Linked DNA regions of Homo sapiens: region 1 is linked to region 2. Evidence: promoter capture Hi-C in human tissues and cell types (Jung and others, 2019). All regions are on one chromosome and are shown on one strand. The core of a region is centred on a gene start or on the middle of the fragment in contact, and the rest is flanking DNA. Distances in the headings are between cores, read along the strand shown.

Region 1 (4,324 bases), core at 282-2,781, 260 kb after region 2:
CTACTTGGCAGGGGCCTAGGACAAGCTTATCTCCTGGTAGGCACAAATGTTTGCTGAAGGAGTGAATGAACTACATTTGCATTTTATCTCTGGCAATGTCTAAACCAAAGAAAATCACACTTGTCTTCTCAGAAGAGGGAACATATTCAAATACCCAGAATTGCAGTTCCTGGTAAAACCTTTCGGCGGCAGCAGCAACTGGAAACTCAGCAGAATCTTTGAGTACTAAAAAGAGTGAAATGGGCCAAGACTTGAACAGCCATGGTTGAAGTAGCCCAGGGGACTGAGATGGGAAGGGGAGATTCATGGCTATCTAAAGCTTAAGAACCACAAACCAGTTCTTTCTTACAAATCACATATATTTACATTGTGGATCTGGGATACACTTATCACAGTAGGAGCTGCTCAAATCAATCTGAATGCTACGCAATCTGGGAACCTCCCCATAACTGTTTGAGCCAGCATTTCAGATTATAGATAAGCTGTTTCCAGCTGGACTGGGTTTGGAAAGTTCACTCTAAAGAATGAAGTCACCTGTTGTCACTGTCCTCCTCTCCAGGATTCCTTTTGGGGCCAGGTACCATCCTGTGGCTCCTTAAGGAGGCTTCTCTCTTTAATTCTCCATGAGGCATCCAGGGTGGTCTGGGCTATGGGAAGAACCCTTCAACTTGGGAGTAGACAGGTGCTCCAATTCATAGTGCCCATTCTCAGAGGCCTTGTGTGTGAGTTTCTCCTTCATGCCTTCCTTCTGGCTCTTCTTGTGCTCCATAATCTGCTGGAGCTGGTGCCCAGCATAGTCTGGCTTGGTGGTCAGCGGGCCAGCCGGCACAGCTACACCAAGGACATCTGACACCATGTAGGGGCGCAGCCAGCCCACCAAGGGAGTGCTTCCGGGGCTGTAGTGGGTCTGTTTGTGGTAGAAGAGAAGTCCATCTACCTATAAGACAAGGGGAAATTGAGGATCAAATGACTTCTGGGGCCACATGTTTCCAGGAGAGCCTATACACACAAGGGCAGCTCTTGTGGTCCGACTCCTTTTTCTGGGTCACTGACAGAGGAAAGAGTCCCAGCTTCTCACACATGCCGTTTCTCTAAATAAAGAAATGGCCTAGAAAACTAAATTTGAGAAAATAAAAACATTGGCTGGGCGTGGTGGCTCATGCTTATAATTCCAGCACTTTGGAGGCTGAGGCAGGCAGATTGCTTGAGCTCAGGAGTTTGAGACCAGCCTGGGCAACATGGTAAGACTCCATTTCTACTAAAAATTCAAAAAAATAGCCAGGCATGTGTGGCACATGCCTGTAATCCCAGCTACTCGGGTGTCTGAGACACGACAACCGCTTGAACCCAGTAGGCAGAGGATGCAGTGAGCTGAGACTGCACCACTGCACTCCAGCCTGGCGACAGAGTGAGACTCTGTCTCAAAAAAAGAAAAAAAAAAAGGAAAGGATAAACATAAATAGCACTTTCCTGTTTACAGAGTGCTTTCCTGCCCACTATTTTACTATCTTACCCATGACGGTGTCTGAGAGATGGGGCTGCTCATACTCAGGGAGTTCTGAGGACCTCCTTAAAACACACAGTGAGTAGGAAGCAGGACTTCAACTTGAACTCTGGTCTTCTGTCCCCAGATTCCACGGACTTTCCACCACTTAGGGGTCTGTGTTGTGGTGGATGAGCTCTGTGCATGGAATGAAAAGCAGAGGAACTGGACAGGCCCCTCCGGGGCAGCAGATTGCTGCACACAGTGGAAACAGGCTGTCCAGATGCCCTGCTTCCCTGGCTACTGTTGGTTGCCTAAACCTCCCCCTAAATTGTTTGTGAGCCATGTTCTGGGAAACAGTTTTTCTCAACGGGAAGACCTCCTACAGTCCCACATTTTATTTTCTATGATTCAGTGACTCATCTCTAAAAAGCATTTATTGTCACTGGGGCATAAGGGTTATAAATAAAGATGGTATTCTTACCACCTTCTTAATTGACTCCCAGAAATGCTGGCAACTCAGCCTTTGCCATTTCCTTATTTGGGAAGCTGTGATCCTTATATAAAATTACATCCAGTTCAAGCAAATGCTTGCAGTGACTGGGCAGATTTTTTTTTTTTTTTTTCTTTCTGAGATGGAGTTTCGCTCGTTGCCCAGGCTGCAGTGGAGTGCGGTGGTGCGATCTCAGCTCAGTGCAACCTCCGCCTCCCGGGTTCAAGAGATTCTCCTGCCTCAACTTCCCAAGTAGCTGGGACTACAGGCGTGTGCCACCATGCCTGGCTAATTTTTGTATTGTTAGTAGAGCCGGGGTTTCACCATGTTGGCGAGGCTGGTCTTGAACTCCTGACCTCAGGTGATCCAACTGCCTCGACCTCCCAAAGTGCTGGGATTACAGGTGTGAGCCACTGTGCCCGGCCAAGGCAGAATTTTTAAGGGAATGATGGGCAAAGGAAAATGTGCTTGTTGAGCCTAGAGAAGGTAGCTGCAGGTTCTGAGGCTGACAAGACTGTTGAGGACTGGGGAGCCTCTGGGGCTGTGAGGTTTGTTTTTTGTTTTTTTTTTTTGAGACAGAGTCTTGTGCTGTTGCCCAGGCTGGAGTGCAGTGGCTCAATCTCGGCTCACTGCAACCTCTGCCTCCCAAGTTCAAGTGATTCTCCTGCCTCAGCCTCCCGAGTAGCTGGGATTACAGGCATCTGCCAATACGCCCAGCTAATTTTTGTATTTTTAGTAGAAACGAGGTTTTGCCATGTTGGCCAGGCTGGTCTTGAACTCCTGACCTCAAGTGATCCACCGGCCTCGGCCTTCCCAAGTGCTGGGATTATAGGCGTGAGCCACCATGCCCAGCCGCTGTGAGACTTTCAGTGCTAAAACAGGGCGAGTCCTGAGCAAACTGGAATGAGGTGGTCACCTGACTCATGCTCCTGCTCAGCAAGTGCTGCTGTCCCCAAGGGCCATCTTCTTTGGTGAGGAAAGGATTAGGGATTTGGACATTTGTTGGAGTCATTCAGTCACAGAAGCACCTTCACTTTACAAGCAGCCACGACAGCCAAACCAGGGACCTGGGTCTCAGCTTGCAGTAGGAAGAGGCACACAAGAAGGATCTAGGCATGCAAGTCTTGCTCCTATCTGGGCCTCAGTTTCTCCGGACCTCAGTTTCTCCATCTGTAAGATGAGGGAGTTGGACGAGCTGTCCATTAAGGGCCCTTCCAGTGCCAGCATTCTGACTTATCCAGCATGGGTGGAGCTCAGGCTCTGAAGGGCAGCAAGTACATCCTTTCTCCAGAATCAGCTTTGTCCCATTCTGATGCTTTGACACAGCACAATCAAGGAATATTTTAAGACTTTGTGTAACTAAGTCTCTCTGCAGCCTATCATCATGTCAAGGCAATAAAGACAATGGTTTCGTTACCTCAAAAGGGAAATCCATAGATAGCACATCACACAGGCTTTCGGGAGTGCAAGGGAAGTTCTTTAGCCCCACAAATTTAAACTGAAATAGAAATTAGAACAAGGAATTAGTACGTTATAAATGATACTGGCCCAAGCAATTGAAAATCTCTGTCAGGCCAGGCATAGTGGCTCACACCTGTAATCCCAGCACTTTGGGAGGCAAAGTCAGGAGGATCACCTGAGGTCAAGAAATCAAGACAAGCCTGGCCAACATGGTGAAACCCCGTCTGTACTAAAAATACAAAAATTAGCCAGGCATAGTGGCATGTGCCTGTAGTCCAAGCTACTTGGGAGGTTGAGGGAGGAAAATAGCTTGAACCCAGGAAGGGGAGGTTGCAGTGAGCCATGATCATGCCACTGCACTCCAGACTGGGTGACAGAGCAAGACTCCCTCTCAAAAAAAGCAAAAAGAAAAGAAAATCTCTGTCAAAGAAGAAAAACTTGTAGTCCCAGCTACTTGGGAGGCTGCTGAGGTAGAAGGATCGCTTGAGCCTGAGGTCAAGGCTGCAGTAAGCTCAGATTGTGCCACTGCACCCCAGCCTGAGTGACAGAGCCAGACCCTGTCTCAAAAACCAAACCAAACCAAACTAAACCAAGCCAAAACAAAAAAACAAAGAAGAAAAGTTTTCAGTCTCATCCTTCTCTACTAATTCCCCTCTACTTACTCTCTTAACTACTAGGTCGTGGTTCCCAATCTTTCCTCCCCCTTTTTTTTAAGAGATGAGATCTCATTCTGTCACCCATGCTAGAGAGCAGTGGCACAATCACAGCTCACTGCATCCTCAAATTCCTGGGCTCAAGGGATTCTCCCACCTCAGTTTCCCAGTATGCTGGGATTATAGGCATGAGCCACTGTACCCAGCCCCAACCTTCTTTTATCCACAAGAATC
Region 2 (4,485 bases), core at 344-2,843:
CGATCCACCGGCCTTGGCCTACCAAAGTGCTATGATTAAAGGTCTTAACATTCTTAAAAAATTTTTTTGACATGGTTTAGGATAGTCTAGTAACTTAACGTACTGTTGTTTTCAACAGGCTAGTGGTTATGATTTGTAAAAGAACTCTTCAGAAATGAGCTCAATTTTACCATGAATTGGGGACACTTTACATTTCTATTTTATAGTGCAGTTTAATTGTCATGGGCTCTGTCTTTTAAAAACCTGAAAGCCTGCAACAATAAAACCAGCTGCACCTGTTGCATGGGATAGGCATGGAATTGAGGAGAGAGCTCAAACTACAGTCAGCCCTCTGTATCCTGAGGTTCTGGATCCTTGGATTTAACCAACTGTGCATCGAAAATATTTGGAAAAAGTAAAACAATAAAAAAACACAGGTCGGGTGCAGTGGCGGGCGCCTGTAGTCCCAGCTACTCGGGAGGCTGAGGCAGGAGAATGGCGTGAACCCGGGTGGCAGAGCTGGCAGCGAGTGGAGATCGCGCCACTGCACTCCAGCCTGGGCAACAGAGCAAGACTCCGTCTCAAAAAAAAAAATTAAAAAACTTTATAACAGCTATTTACAAAGCATTTACGTTGTATTAGGTATTATAGTAATCTAGAGATGATTTAAAGTATACGGAAGGATGTGCACAGGTTATTTGCAAATACTATGCCATATTATATCAGGGACTTGAGTATCTGTGAATTTTGGTATCTCTGGGGTCCTGGAACCAACATCCTGAGGTTACCAAAGGACGACTGTATTCAATTTTGTCTCTGGTTATTAGTCTATTCTCAAATGTATTTTTCTTGTTGTTTTGTCTTTTTGTTTTTGCCTCTTCAAGTCAATGTCGGAAACTTAGTTGTTCTAGACTACCCATTAGCTCAGAGCTACCAGTAATCAGACTACCACTGCAACCTAAGCAACCGATTTTTCTTCCCCATCAGACTGGCAAAAATTAAGATAAGCATCTATTGATGTTGAAGCTGTAGGGAGTTTTCCTGAGCAAGTAATTATGACAGCCCTTTTTGCTAGGCACCTAGATGATTCATCAAAATGAAATAAAATACCCATGCACTTGAAGAAGTTATCTGGTTTATTTCCTTACCTGGGTGCTGGTTATGTGAGGTGTACAGTTGATGAAAACTTATTAAGCTTTATAATAGGTACAATTTTCTGTATGTGTAGTAGACGTCAATAGTTTTTAAAATGTCTTTTGCCACAGCCCGCAGCTGTGAATAATGCTATTCGCTTAACAGTGGAAAACGTGTCAATGACCTGAAACACCCTGGCTCCCGGGATCCTACCCCCTTAAGTTAAACAAATGAAATAACTTCCACTGTCTTTCCTAATGTCTTAATTCGGTCCTCAGTTAAACTGGCGGTTGGCGCCAGTTTTTTCCAGGGAAGGATTCTGGGAGACGGAGGAGGAGACGCCAGCATTTCGCCCCCTGCACCTCCAGCGGGCTGCGGTCCGCTCCCGGCCTCACTCGAGCAGGCCCCGCCCTCCCAGAGGCAGTTAGTCCAAGTCACGTGATCGTCGACTCAGCTGACCCTGCGGGACCGGAAAAAGAAATTCCCGGGCCCTGGCTTCTTGGCGCGATGGTGAGGCACTAGGGGCGAAGCGAGGCTTGGGCTGCTGGAGCGGGAATGAGGGGGCGCCAAGTGGCTCCGGAAACTGGGGGAGGTTGTACTGGCCTCTCCGCAAACACAGTGTGTGCGGGCGTGAGGGCTGTGAGTCTGGTAGGGAAAAGTCCACCACTCTCCCGCTCCCGAGACGGGGGCGGGGGTACGGGGCGGGTAAGACAGAGCAGGCCGGCCGGCTTAGAGTCCCGGTGCTTCCCTGGCGGAAGGAAGGGCCCCTGCCTCCCGGGGCAGGAACTAGGGCTTGTCTGGAGCTGGGAGTCCTTTCAGGTCTTCCCCATCCCCAAGAGGACCTCCCAAGGATACCCCCTTCCCCAGCCCTGCCGTGGGGCTTGTACAAGAAGGTGCTTAGAATCAGGCTCACTCTTCCACACTGTTAGGAAGCCCCTCCGCTCTTTCCAGAGCCAGAAAGTAGTAGTTTTGGGGTTGAGACTTATCCATCCATCCATCCAATCCATCCATCCGTACGTTCTAAGCGCCTGGTCTATACCATGAAGTGTGCTAGGCACTGGGAGGACTTGAGCTGCCAAGGGAAGGGGAAATCGGAGGCTTGAATTGGAGTCATAGCTAAGGCTCCAGGGGCAGAGACCTAACTGCGCCTTGTGTGTAGTGCTAAGGGGGCTTCCTAAGGATGCCATCAAACTTAAAGGCGGATGGATGGCAGGAGCTGGCTGGCTGAAGTACAGTTTGTGTACCAGGGGTAGGGAGGCAAGGGTGGGAGACGTGTGTCTTCAGACAGGGAACAGCATGTGCAGAGACTTCAGGTTAGAGAGAGTATGGCTCCCCAGGAATGGATGCATTTCCCATAGCTGGGAGAGTATCATCTGCAGGTTAGGGAAAGATGAGGCTGGACAAGTAGAGAACAAATCTTCCTGGCTCTTGGATCACCACAATCAAGATAATGAACGTATCCACTGGCCTCCATAATTTCCTTGTGTGAGGGGCTATTTTAAGAAGTATAATCAAGAAAGGCTGTTCTGGCTGGGTGCGGTGGCTCATGCCTGTAATCCTAGCACTTTGGGAGAGTGAAGAGGGTGGATCACCTGAGGTCAGGAGTTCGAGACCAGCATGGCCATGGCACTCCAGCCTGGGCAACAGAGGGAGACTCTGTCTTATTTTTTTATTTTTTAAAAAAAGAAGGGCTGGTCTGATGTGTCACTTAAAGGATAGCAAGCCACTGGCCAGGCGCCGTGGCTCACGCCTGTAATCCCAGCACTTTGGGAGGCTGAGGGGGACGGATCACTTGAGGTCAGGAGTTCAAGACCAGCCTGGCTAACATAGTGAAACTCTGTCTCTACTAAAAATACAAAATTAGCCGAGTGTGGTGGCACATGCCTGTAATCCCAGCTACTTGGGAGGCTGAGGCAGGAGAATCACTTGAACCTGGGAAGCGGAGGTTGCAGTGAGCCGAGGTCGCGCCATTGCACTCCAGCCTGGGGAACAAGAGTGAAACTGTCTCAAAAAAAAAAAAAAAAGGATAGCAAGCCACACAGAGAGTGCAGCAGGCATGGAGGCGGGAGCAAGGCTGGTGTGCCCCAGCAGCAGCAGGGAAGCTGGAGTGGCTGGAGTTGTGTGGGTATGGGGAAGAGGGGAGAGAGTTCACTCGTCTCTGTGAGGCCCAGGACTTTGTTTTATCCCATGCTGTACCCCCAGCACTTAGAGTGGGAGCTAGCACAGAGAAGGTGCTTAATTGATGTTTGCTGAGCAGATGAATGCCTGGAGTAGACCTCAGAGCAGGGTTTGGTGGCAGGGTGGGTCAGGGAGAGAGTTTACTCAACAGCCTGGTGATAGGGGAGAACAAGAGGCCAGAGGGTATCCATCTATGTCGGGGACCAGGGGTCCCTGGTGGGCAGCAGTGTGGGAGACACACGGATCCTGGCCACACCTCAGGCCTCCCTCCAGCCTGATTACCTGCCTCCCTCCCTTGCAGAGGTTCCGGTTCTGTGGTGATCTGGACTGTCCCGACTGGGTCCTGGCAGAAATCAGCACGCTGGCCAAGATGGTTGAGTGCACAGGGTCTAGTCTGGGTGGAGGAGGGGTGTTGGGGGTGGGGATTGTGGGTGTAGAGGATGGTGAGGTTTCTCTGGGGCTAGGGCCTCAGTGCTCTCAGCCTGTGCTACCATGCTTTGTGACCTTGATCAGTGGCTGGCCTGCTCTGAGCCAGTCCCCAGGAAGGAGGGGTGAGGTTTGCCAGCCTGGCTGATGTAAGGACTTCCCTTCCAGTCCTCTGTGAAGTTGCGGCTGCTCTGCAGCCAGGTACTAAAGGAGCTGCTGGGACAGGGGATTGATGTGAGTACAAGATCCAGCACCCCATTGTCCCATGACCTTATGACCACCACTGCCCTGAAACTCTGCACTAGGCCCAGGGAGACGGGTGAGCCAGCCTCTCAACCTCTCTGGGCACCTCCCTTCCTTCTTTCCAGCCTGTCTGTTCCTTATCGCAGGATCCAGGCTGGGGGTGAGGGGCTGGTGAGCAGGGGCCTGGCACCCCCTGAAGGTCTCCTTTCCCCATAGTATGAGAAGATCCTGAAGCTCACGGCTGACGCCAAGTTTGGTGAGTATCCCGCTGAGTCTATAGGCCCCAGGCAACCCTGGGAACTTGGCCTGGTGCCTGGTACAGAGGGGCCCCCCACCCCTCCCAGCAGCATCCTTAACTTACCTTCCCTAGTGGAGGAGCATGAGGGAAAGAAAGACCGACAGTCCCACCTTCCTGTCCTCTGCCAGCTCCTGGTGGAGCAGTAGCAGTGCCTGTGGCTCCAGGAGGCCTGGGGGCTTTGAGCTAAAGTTAATAGGGCAACAGGGAGGTGGCTGGACCCACAGTGA

The links. The method cuts DNA at HindIII sites, captures the fragments that hold promoters and counts their contacts. A contact is called where the count stands out against the background at its distance.
Region 1: a fragment that was not itself captured here is called in contact with the fragment with the promoter of COMMD4 in region 2 in 5 of the 25 tissues and cell types used here (bladder, heart right ventricle, liver and 2 more).

The regions. Positions count from the first base shown.
Region 1 is chr15:75,597,745-75,602,068 of GRCh38, forward strand. It overlaps SNUPN (snurportin 1), which reads right to left. Exons shown (of 9, transcript NM_005701.4): 8 at 3,394-3,474; 9 at 342-937. The coding sequence ends at 614. Among named protein-coding and RNA genes, the nearest start is that of PTPN9, 21 kb to the left of the region's middle. The HindIII fragment of the contact is 4,669 bases long and covers 1-3,866 here.
Region 2 is chr15:75,334,470-75,338,954 of GRCh38, forward strand. COMMD4 (COMM domain containing 4) reads left to right here and starts at 1,594. Exons shown (of 8, transcript NM_017828.5): 1 at 1,594-1,623; 2 at 3,593-3,664; 3 at 3,886-3,951; 4 at 4,177-4,216. The coding sequence starts at 1,621. RefSeq lists enhancers at 1,428-1,477, 1,818-1,987. The HindIII fragment of the contact is 27,503 bases long and covers 1-4,485 here.